Linked DNA regions of Homo sapiens: region 1 is linked to region 2. Evidence: promoter capture Hi-C in human tissues and cell types (Jung and others, 2019). All regions are on one chromosome and are shown on one strand. Each heading gives the region's core, a stretch centred on a gene start or on the middle of the fragment in contact. The rest is flanking DNA. Distances are from core to core; before and after follow the strand shown. Region 1 holds the start of NAPA (NSF attachment protein alpha). Region 2 holds the start of MYPOP (Myb related transcription factor, partner of profilin).

Evidence for each region. Contacts are between HindIII fragments. The study calls those that stand out against the background at their distance.
Region 1: a contact is called between the fragment with the promoter of NAPA here and the fragment with the promoter of MYPOP in region 2, in 1 of the 25 tissues and cell types used here (lymphoblastoid cells).

Annotation. Positions count from the first base shown.
Region 1 is chr19:47,513,526-47,517,701 of GRCh38, reverse strand. It overlaps NAPA (NSF attachment protein alpha), which reads left to right and starts at 2,639. Exons shown (of 11, transcript NM_003827.4): 1 at 2,639-2,859. The coding sequence starts at 2,762. RefSeq lists an enhancer at 1,991-2,260 and a silencer at 2,351-2,690. The HindIII fragment of the contact is 27,973 bases long and covers 1-4,176 here.
Region 2 is chr19:45,901,293-45,905,768 of GRCh38, reverse strand. It overlaps MYPOP (Myb related transcription factor, partner of profilin), which reads left to right and starts at 3,156. Exons shown (of 3, transcript NM_001012643.4): 1 at 3,156-3,199; 2 at 3,944-4,476. The coding sequence starts at 3,996. RefSeq lists silencers at 2,464-2,543, 3,104-3,153 and enhancers at 2,804-2,913, 3,344-3,393. The HindIII fragment of the contact is 9,891 bases long and covers 1,621-4,476 here.

The DNA.
Region 1 (4,176 bases), core at 1,390-3,889, 1.6 Mb before region 2:
AACATCTTATATTAGAATGGTACATTTATTACCACGTATGAACCAGTATGGCACAATATTATTAACTAAACTTCATAGTTTATTTAGATTTCCTTAGTGTTTTTGTTTGTTTTGAGATGGAGTCTCACTCTGTCACCCAGGCTGTAGCACAGTGGCACAATCTCGGCTCACCACAACCTCCACCTCCTGGGTTCAAGCAATTCTGCTTCAGCTTCCTGAGTAGCTGGGACTATAGGCGCCCTCCACCAGGCCCAGCTAATGTTTGTATTTTTAGTAGAGACAGTGTTTCTCCATGTTAGCCAGGCTGGTCTGGAACTCCTGACCTCAGGTGATCCACCCGCCTCAGCCTCTCAAAGTGGTGGGATTACAGGTATGAGCCACCGCACCCGGCCAATTTCCTTGGTTTTTTAACTCAATGCCCTTCTGTTCCAGGATCCCACCGAAGGTAAGACATTACATTTAGCAGTCACGTCTCCTTGGCTGTGATGGTTTCTCAGGCTTTCCTTGTTTTGATGACTTGACAGTGTTATTTGTTTGAGACGGAGTCTCCCTCTTGTCCCCCAGGCTGGAGTGCAGTGAGGCAATCTCCGCTCACTGCAACCTCCACCTCCAGGGTACAAGTGATCCTCCTGCCTCAGCCTCCCAAGTAGCTGTGATTACAGGCATGCACCACCTCACCGGGCTAAGTTTTTTGTATTTTCAGTAGCGACGGGGTTTCCCCATGTTGGACAGGCTGGTCTCAAACTCCTGGCCTCAAGTGATCCTCCTGCCTTGGCCTCCCAAAGTACCAGGACTACAGATGTGACACACTGCACCCACCAACAGTGTTGAGGAGTACTGGGCAAGTATTTTGGAGGATGTGGCTCAACTGGAATTTGTCTAGTGTTTTTTTCATGATTAGATTGAAAGATCCCAGAAGTAAAGAGCCATTTTAATCACATGACTTATCAATGTTGAGGTTAACCTCAATCACCTAGATGTCAATGTCAGGTTTCTCCACTGTAAATTTAGGCTTTTTCTCCCCTTTCTTGTACCCTCTTCTTTGAAAGGAAGTCACTATGCACAGTCCATACTTACAGAATGGGGAGGTATCCTTCACCTTCTTGAGAGCAGAGTATCTACGCAGATTATTTGGAATTCTTCTGCACAAACTATTTGTCTATTCTCCCCCCTTTATTTATTTGTTCTATATTCATCTATATGACCATAGGCTCATGGATACTTTATGTTTGGGATTATAATCCAATACTACTTTATTTTGATGCTCAAATTGTTCCAGCTTTGGCCATTGGGAGTTCTTTCAGTTGGCTCCTTTGGCATACCCCCTAATTTTGTGTGTGAGCACACGTGTGGAATACTTCCTTCCTTTCTGGCACTACAAAGTTATACTGAGGTGAGCTATGATTGTGCTGCTGCACTCCAGCCTGGGCGACAGACCGAGACCCTGTCTCCAAAACCAACAACCCAAAGAGTGAGACCCTGTCTCAGAAACCAGCAACTCAATTTTCTGGGACAGCAGGAGGTGTGTTTGAGCCTAAACTTTTTTTTTTAGAGACAGAGTCTTGCTATGTTGCCCAAGGCGGGACTTGAACTAGACTCAAACTCCTGGGCCCAAGCGATCCTCTCGCCTCCCGAGTAGCTGGGATTATAGGCACGAGACACCGCGCCCATCTTCGAATCTGAATTTTTTTTTAACACGCTCTCTTCAGCTATTTTTTTTTTTTTTCTGAGACTAAGTCTCACTCTGTCGCCCAGGCTGGAGTGCAGTGGCACGATCTCGGCCCGTTGCAACCTCCACCTCCCCGGTTCAAGCGATTCTCCTCTCTCAGCCTCCTCAGTAGCTGGGATTACAGGAGTGTGCCACCACACCCGGTTAATATTTGTATTTTAGTAGAGCGGGGTTTCGCCATGTTGGCCGGGCTGGTCTCAAACTCATGACCTCAAGTGATCCGCCCGCCTCGGCCTCCCAAAGTGCTGGGATTACAGGCGTAAGCCACCGTGCCCGGCCCTCTTCAGCTATTTTTTATGAAACCAGAGTTAGAGAACCTCTTAAGTTTTTGTTTGCAGTCTCTCTTCACCGGTCTCCCCAAAGCAGTTCTAGTACTGGCCGACAGAGGGAGCAAGAAAAAGCAGAACGGTTTCCTTTTCCCACAAACGCCTTTCCAAGTGAAGAAACCGGCGAGACCAGCCGCGGGGGCGGGACTAAGTTCTGCGCAGAACTGTCAAACCCGGGCGTGGGCCCCGAGCTGTCACGTGAGTGTCTGCGGTCAGCTGACTGTGCCAGAGTTCCGCGGGGAGGGCGAGTGGGGGACCCCCCGCCCCAGCGCGAGCCGAGGGCTCCTGCTGATTGGTGGAGGAGGATCCAGCAGCAACACCGTGGGGCGGGGCCTCGGCGGGGGGTACTGCCATTGCCTTCCACAGGGTCACGTGGGAGGTGAGGTACAGAGCGCTGGGGAGAGAGTGGAGCGCCGTTCGCCGGTATGTGCGCATGCGTTGAGGTCTCTTGACGCCGATTGGGGGGTCACGAGTCACGGGCGGCGTGCGGCGGCTGGTGGGGGCGTGTCCGGCGGAGCGGGCGCGGCGTTACGAGGCCGCTGGTTGGCCAGCGCTAGTCACGTGGTTCCTGGCCGCAAGCGACGCGCGCCGGTGCGACGTCAACGCAGCCGGGCGAGTTTTACCGATCTGTGTTCCGCGGCCCGGCCGCGGCTGAGTCTTCCCAGGGTCAGGGTCAGGCGCTTTGCTGAGTCCCTTTGTGGCCGCCATGGACAATTCCGGGAAGGAAGCGGAGGCGATGGCGCTGTTGGCCGAGGCGGAGCGCAAAGTGAAGAACTCGCAGTCCTTCTTCTCTGGCCTCTTTGGGTGAGAACCGGGCTGAGGGGTCGGCCGGGACCTAGGCTGAGAGGACGAAGGAGTCACGCTCGGAGGTGGCGGGTTAGGGCACGCAGAGCTCGGGCCGAGGGGACGGAGAGGAACCTGCAATAAGGTGACATGGCCTGAGGCGGCAGAGGGGACGCAGGCTGAGGGCCAAGAGCCTGGGCCGGGGCAACACGGTTTGAGGAGAGACGGTCTGACATGGCGGAAGGGATTTGGGCTGAGGACACACGGACCGAGGCGACACTATCTTGAGGCGAGGAAGGGGACCCAGGCCGAAGACAGGCCAGCGGGCGGGGGAGAACCTGGACCGAGGGAGTACGTCCTGAAGCCTTGGAGGGGACCGGCCTGGGGGGACGGAGGGAGTCCGGGAGAGAAGCCAGGTCCAGAGGCTTTTCGGAGCTCTAGGGGAGTCTGTTTGAAGGCTCTCAGGCGGCAGTGATGGGGCCTGGGGCTGAGGACGCCTGCCCGAGGGACTGACCTTTTCAACCCCTGGAGCAGTGGATTTGCGTGGGCCCTGGGCGGTGAGGGTGAAGGCTGAAGGGGGCTGACACCAGGCAGAGGGGCTCAGGGCTAGATGATCCTAGGAGCGGTGAGCCGCGTCTGAAGTGTGGGGGGTGCATGGGGTGAGTACGGCCCTGGTTAGCAGTGACTAGTTTAAGGACAGCTGAACGGAGGAACCCGGGATGATGGAGTCAAGACTGTGGAGGTCTCAGCACTTTGGGAGGCCGAGGTGGGCAGATTATCTGAGGCGGGGAGTTCGAGACCAGCCTGGACAACATGGTGAAACCCCGTCTCTACTAAAAATACAAAAGTTATCTGGGCCTGGTGGCGGGTACCTGTAATCCCAGCTACTCGGGAGGCTGGGGCAGGAGAATCACTTGAACCCGGAGGTAGAGGTTGCAGTGAGCCGAGATCGAGCCACTGCACTACAGCCTGGGGGACAGAGCGAGACTCTGTCTCAAAAAAAAAAAAAAAAAAAAAGAAAGAAAGAAAGAAAAAAGCCTGAGGAGGCCTGGGTTGAGGCTGGAGACTCCTGGGTGGGGGAATGCGTGGTGGTGGCTTGGCCAAGGAGATGGAGGGATAACAGGGAGAGACAGGGGGACTGAGAGAACCAAAACGGGGGATCAAATTCCTGCTGTGTGATCCTCGAGTAATAGGGATGACAGAGACATGCTGAGAAGAGGGATGGGAAAAGGCCTGGGAGACAGAACTAACACATATGACGTGGCATAAAACTCACGTTAGCTCCTAAAAGCTGACACGACCATCCTGTGATAAATTGTAGTGGCTTAGAAGTGCCAA
Region 2 (4,476 bases), core at 1,907-4,406:
CTCCCCGAATGCCTTCCCGGGGTCCCCAGTGCATTTGTTTCCTGTGGCTGCCATGACAAGGTACCGCAAACTGGGTGGTTTAAAACGAGAAACGTGGCTAGGCACGGTGGCTCACACCTGTAATCCTAGCACTTTGGGAGGCCGAGACAGGCGGATCACCTGAGGTAAGGAGTTCAAGACCAGCCTGGCCAACACTGTGAAACCCCGTCTCTACTAAAAATACAAAAATTAGCTGGGCATGGTGGCATGCGCCTGTAATCCCAGTTACCCGGGAGACTGAGGCAGGAGAATCACTGGAATCCGGGAGGCAGAGGCTGCAGCGAGCCGAGATCGTGCCACTGTACTCCAGCCTGGGCAACAGAGCAAGACTCCATTTCAAAAAAAAAAAAAAAACAGAGAGAGAGAAACGTATTGTCTCCCAGATTCACCAGGCTGAAAATCCGAAATCAAGGCATGGGCGTGGCCTCACTCCGGACAAGGCTCCAGCGGGTGATCTTTCCTGGCTTCTTCCAGCTTCTGATAGCACAGGGCCTTCCTGGGCTTGTGGCTGCGTCACCCCCGTCTCCACTTCTGTCACCATAGAATTGTCTTCCCTGTGTGTCTCCTCTTCTTATAAAGACACCGGGAATGAGGAATGACGGGTCCACCCTACACTGGTATGGCTACCTCTCAACGAATTCCCTCTCCAAGGACCCTATTTCCAAATAAGGTCACATTCTGAAGCACTGGGGGATCAGGACTTCAGCCTCTCTTTTTGGGGGAAACAGTTCAACCTGTTGGTCACTTTACACTCACGTATCTTTTTTTGATTGTGTTTTTTTTGTTGTTGTTCTTATTTTTTTAATTTAATTTTTTTTTGAGGCAGAGTCTCACGCTGTCCCCCAGGCTGGAATGCAGTGGCGCAGTCTCAGCTCACTGCAAGCTCAGCCTCCCGGGTTCATGCCATTCTCCTGCCTCAGCCTCCCGAGTAGCTGGGACTTCAGGCGCCTGCCACCACTCCCGGCTAATTTTTTGTATTTTTAGTAGAGACGGGGTTTCACCATGTTAGTCAGGATGGTCTCAATCTCCTGACCTCGTGATCCACCTGCCTCGGCCTCCCAAAGTGCTGGGATTACAGGAATGAGCCACTGCGCCCGGCCTTTTTTTTAATTTTTTTGAGACAGAGTCTCACTCTGTCGCCCAGGCTGGAGTGCAGTGGTGAGATCTCGGTTCCCTGCAATCTGTGCCTCCTAGGCTCAAGAGATTCTCCTGCCTCAGCCTCCCGAGTAGCTAGGATTACAGGCACATGGCACAACACCCAGCTATTTTTTTTTTTTTTGAATTTTTAATAGAGACAGGGTTCCACCATGTTGGCCAGGCTGGTCTCGAACTCCTGACCTCAGATGATCCACCTGTCTCAGCCTCCCAAAGTGTTGGGATTACAGGCGTGAGCCACTGCACCCAGCCTTACATTCACCACATCTTACCTGACCCCACACCCCCAAGTGAGAACCTGGGCCAGAGACTTGGGTTTCACCTAGACATCTTCCTTTCCCTCGCTAGCGCGACACTCACCATGCTTTCCATATATTCTCTCAAATGTCTCTCCGTGTCCCCCTTGACACTGTCCCTGTCTTAGTTTAGTCTCCCCTCGCTTTCCTAATCCTTTTCTTACCCCTGCTCATGACTTTTTTTGACTCTACCCAGTAGTCTTGCTCCCTCCCACCCACCCTCCACACAGCAGGCAGAGGGGCCTTTTTTTTCTCTCTCTCTTCTTTTGAGACAGGGTCTTACTCTGTTGCCCAAGCTGGAGAGCAGTGGCCTGATCATAGCTCACTGCAGCCTGCAACTCCTGGGCTCAAGCGATCCTCCCGCCTCAGCCTCCCAAGTAGCTGGGACTACAGGCATGTATTTTTTTTTTTTTTTTTTTTGAGACGGAGTCTCACTCTGTCGTCCAGGTGGAGTGCAGTGGTGCAATCTCAGCTCACTGCAACCTCTGCCTCCCGGGGTTAAGCGATTCTCGTGCCTCAGCCTCCCGAGTAGCTGGGATTACAGGCATGCACCACCATGCCCAGCTAGTTTTTGTATTTTCAGTAGAGATGGGGTTTCACTGTGTTGGCCAGGCTTGTCTCGAACCCCTGACCTCAGGTAATCCGCCCGCCTTGGCTTCCCAAAGTGCTGGGATTACAGGCGTGAGCTCCACCGCGCCCGGCCCAGGCTACGGATTTTAGCTTTTATGTTCATTGTACCAGGAACTGTGTAAGTGCTCATGTATATTTATTGAGTCGATGAATGAAGCACCAATTGTCGAATGACCTTGAGGACTCCTGCAGGATGCTAACGAACACACTTCTCAGCCGGACTGAGCTCCATCATCCTGCCATGCGGCTCACCCCACCTGCGTTCTGGCTTCATTCCTGTCTCCATGCACTTGCTTAAAGTCGTGCCGGCGTCAGGATCTCCCTTCCTACCAGCCAGGAAGCTCTTCCCTCTTATTTTCCCCGCTCCTCGAGGTAAAGGTGCGCACAGAGGGGCCCCCAAGGCGTGACTGGAAGGCTTGTGGGTCGCTATGGTTACTGCATCCGCCCGGGGCGGGACATCCCCAGGACGCCCAGCCTCTAGGGGTGCGAGGTGGGAAGCTCTGGAGCGGCCCAGCGCAGGGGCGGGCAAGCCAGGAGGCAAAGCGGTTTCCTCACGCCTCCACCCCACCCACACAGTTGTCAAGGAGACAAAGCGCTTCCCTTCAGCGCTGTCTCCCTCCCCTTTGGTTAGAGGGCAGGGTGGGCTGGAAGACTGTCCGAAAGGTTGGGTACTGGCGCGCTCCCAGCATCTCTCCCATCCAAGCTCGCAACGCCTGCGCCGAGACCCGGTACCGGGTACAACCCGAGGCACGCGCATGCGCGCGATGGAGTTTTTGCGCGTGCGCCGTTGTGGCCCCAGGAAGCTGGGGTACCCGCGCGGCGCTAACGTTGCGGCTGCGCAGTTGCGGCCTGCTGGTGGGGCTCGGCGGAGCGCAGTTCTGCGCCTGCGCTGTGCTGGGGTAGGTGGGAATGAAACCCTGGCGGTAAGGGCATTGGGGCCGACTGGCCCTGGGCGCGCCTGCGCCTTGGCATGCGGGGCGGCCGGAGGCGGGGCCGAAAGAGGGGAGGGAGGGAGGCGGGGGGTGGGAACAGGCCGCAGAAGCCCGAGCCCTGACCCACCGGCGGCTGCGGCGGAGCCGGTGAGTGACCCGTGGCCCGACTCGGTCCCCACCCTCCGCGACCTTCGCTCTCCCTGCCGTCCCCCGTAGCCTCCGTTGTCTCCTTGTGATACGGGACCCCCGTTATTTCCAGAGCTCCCCTTAATTTCTGGCAATCCCCAGAGCCCCCACAATCCTCGCAGACCCTGATCCCTAATATTTGATCGTTCCAGCTCTTCCAGTGATACAGGAGCTCCCACCTCACCATTATTCCTGGACATCCCTCTAAGGGCCCTTCTCATATCGGTCTTACAGACGCCCCGTTGCCCCCTAGAGCCCCTAGAGCGCCTCCTCTGCTCCAGATTCCCCCCTTCTTGCTGCATCCCCCCTTCCGCATCTCCTTATCTTCATGCATCTAAGACCCCCCCGAGGCACCCCCATCCTCCCTCCATTTCCTATCCTCCCGTGCCCCCATTCTCTAACTCCTGCAGACACCTCCTCTCCTCGCACTTTTCCTCCTTTCCTTCCATCCCTCCAGACCCTCCCCCAATTTCTATCAACTCTTCAGCGTGGCACTTCGCGCCGCGCGAAGTCCGAGCCAAGCGCTCAGCCGGTGTCAGCTACTCTTAGGCGCTTCCGACTTACCCGGGTGCCCGTCGCCCCCGCCCGCCCCCCGCCCCCACTCCTGCCCCCGGGGACTAAGGAGCTCTCGGCCCGGCGGTCTGGGAGAGGCGGCGGCGGGGGGACCCCGAACCCCAGCCAGCCCCGTGCGCCCTTTGCCCGCAGCGCCGGCGCCCCCCATGCGCCAGACGGCAGGACGGCGGCGTCGGGGGGCGCCATGGCCTCGGCGGCGGCGGGCGAAGCGGAGGAAACCACCCGGTTGCGCAAGCCGCGCTTCTCATTCGAAGAGAACCAGATCCTGATCCGCGAGGTGCGCGCCCACTACCCGCAGCTCTACGGCGCGCAGAGCCGTCGGGTGAGCGTGGCAGAGCGGCGGCGCGTGTGGGACGGCATCGCCGCCAAGATCAACGGTATCACCAGCTGGAAGCGCACGGGCCAGGAGGTGCAGAAGCGCTGGAACGACTTCAAGCGCCGCACCAAGGAGAAGCTCGCTCGCGTGCCGCACTCCACGCAGGGCGCCGGGCCCGCCGCGGAGGACGCTTTCTCCGCGGAAGAGGAGACCATTTTTGCCATCCTGGGGCCAGGTGTGGCGGCGCCGGGGGCAGGTGCTGGGGCGGAGGAGCCCCCTGCGGCCCCCTCTTCACAGCCGCCGCCCCCAAGCGCCTGCCCTCAGCGCTACGTGTTGTCGGAAGACCGCC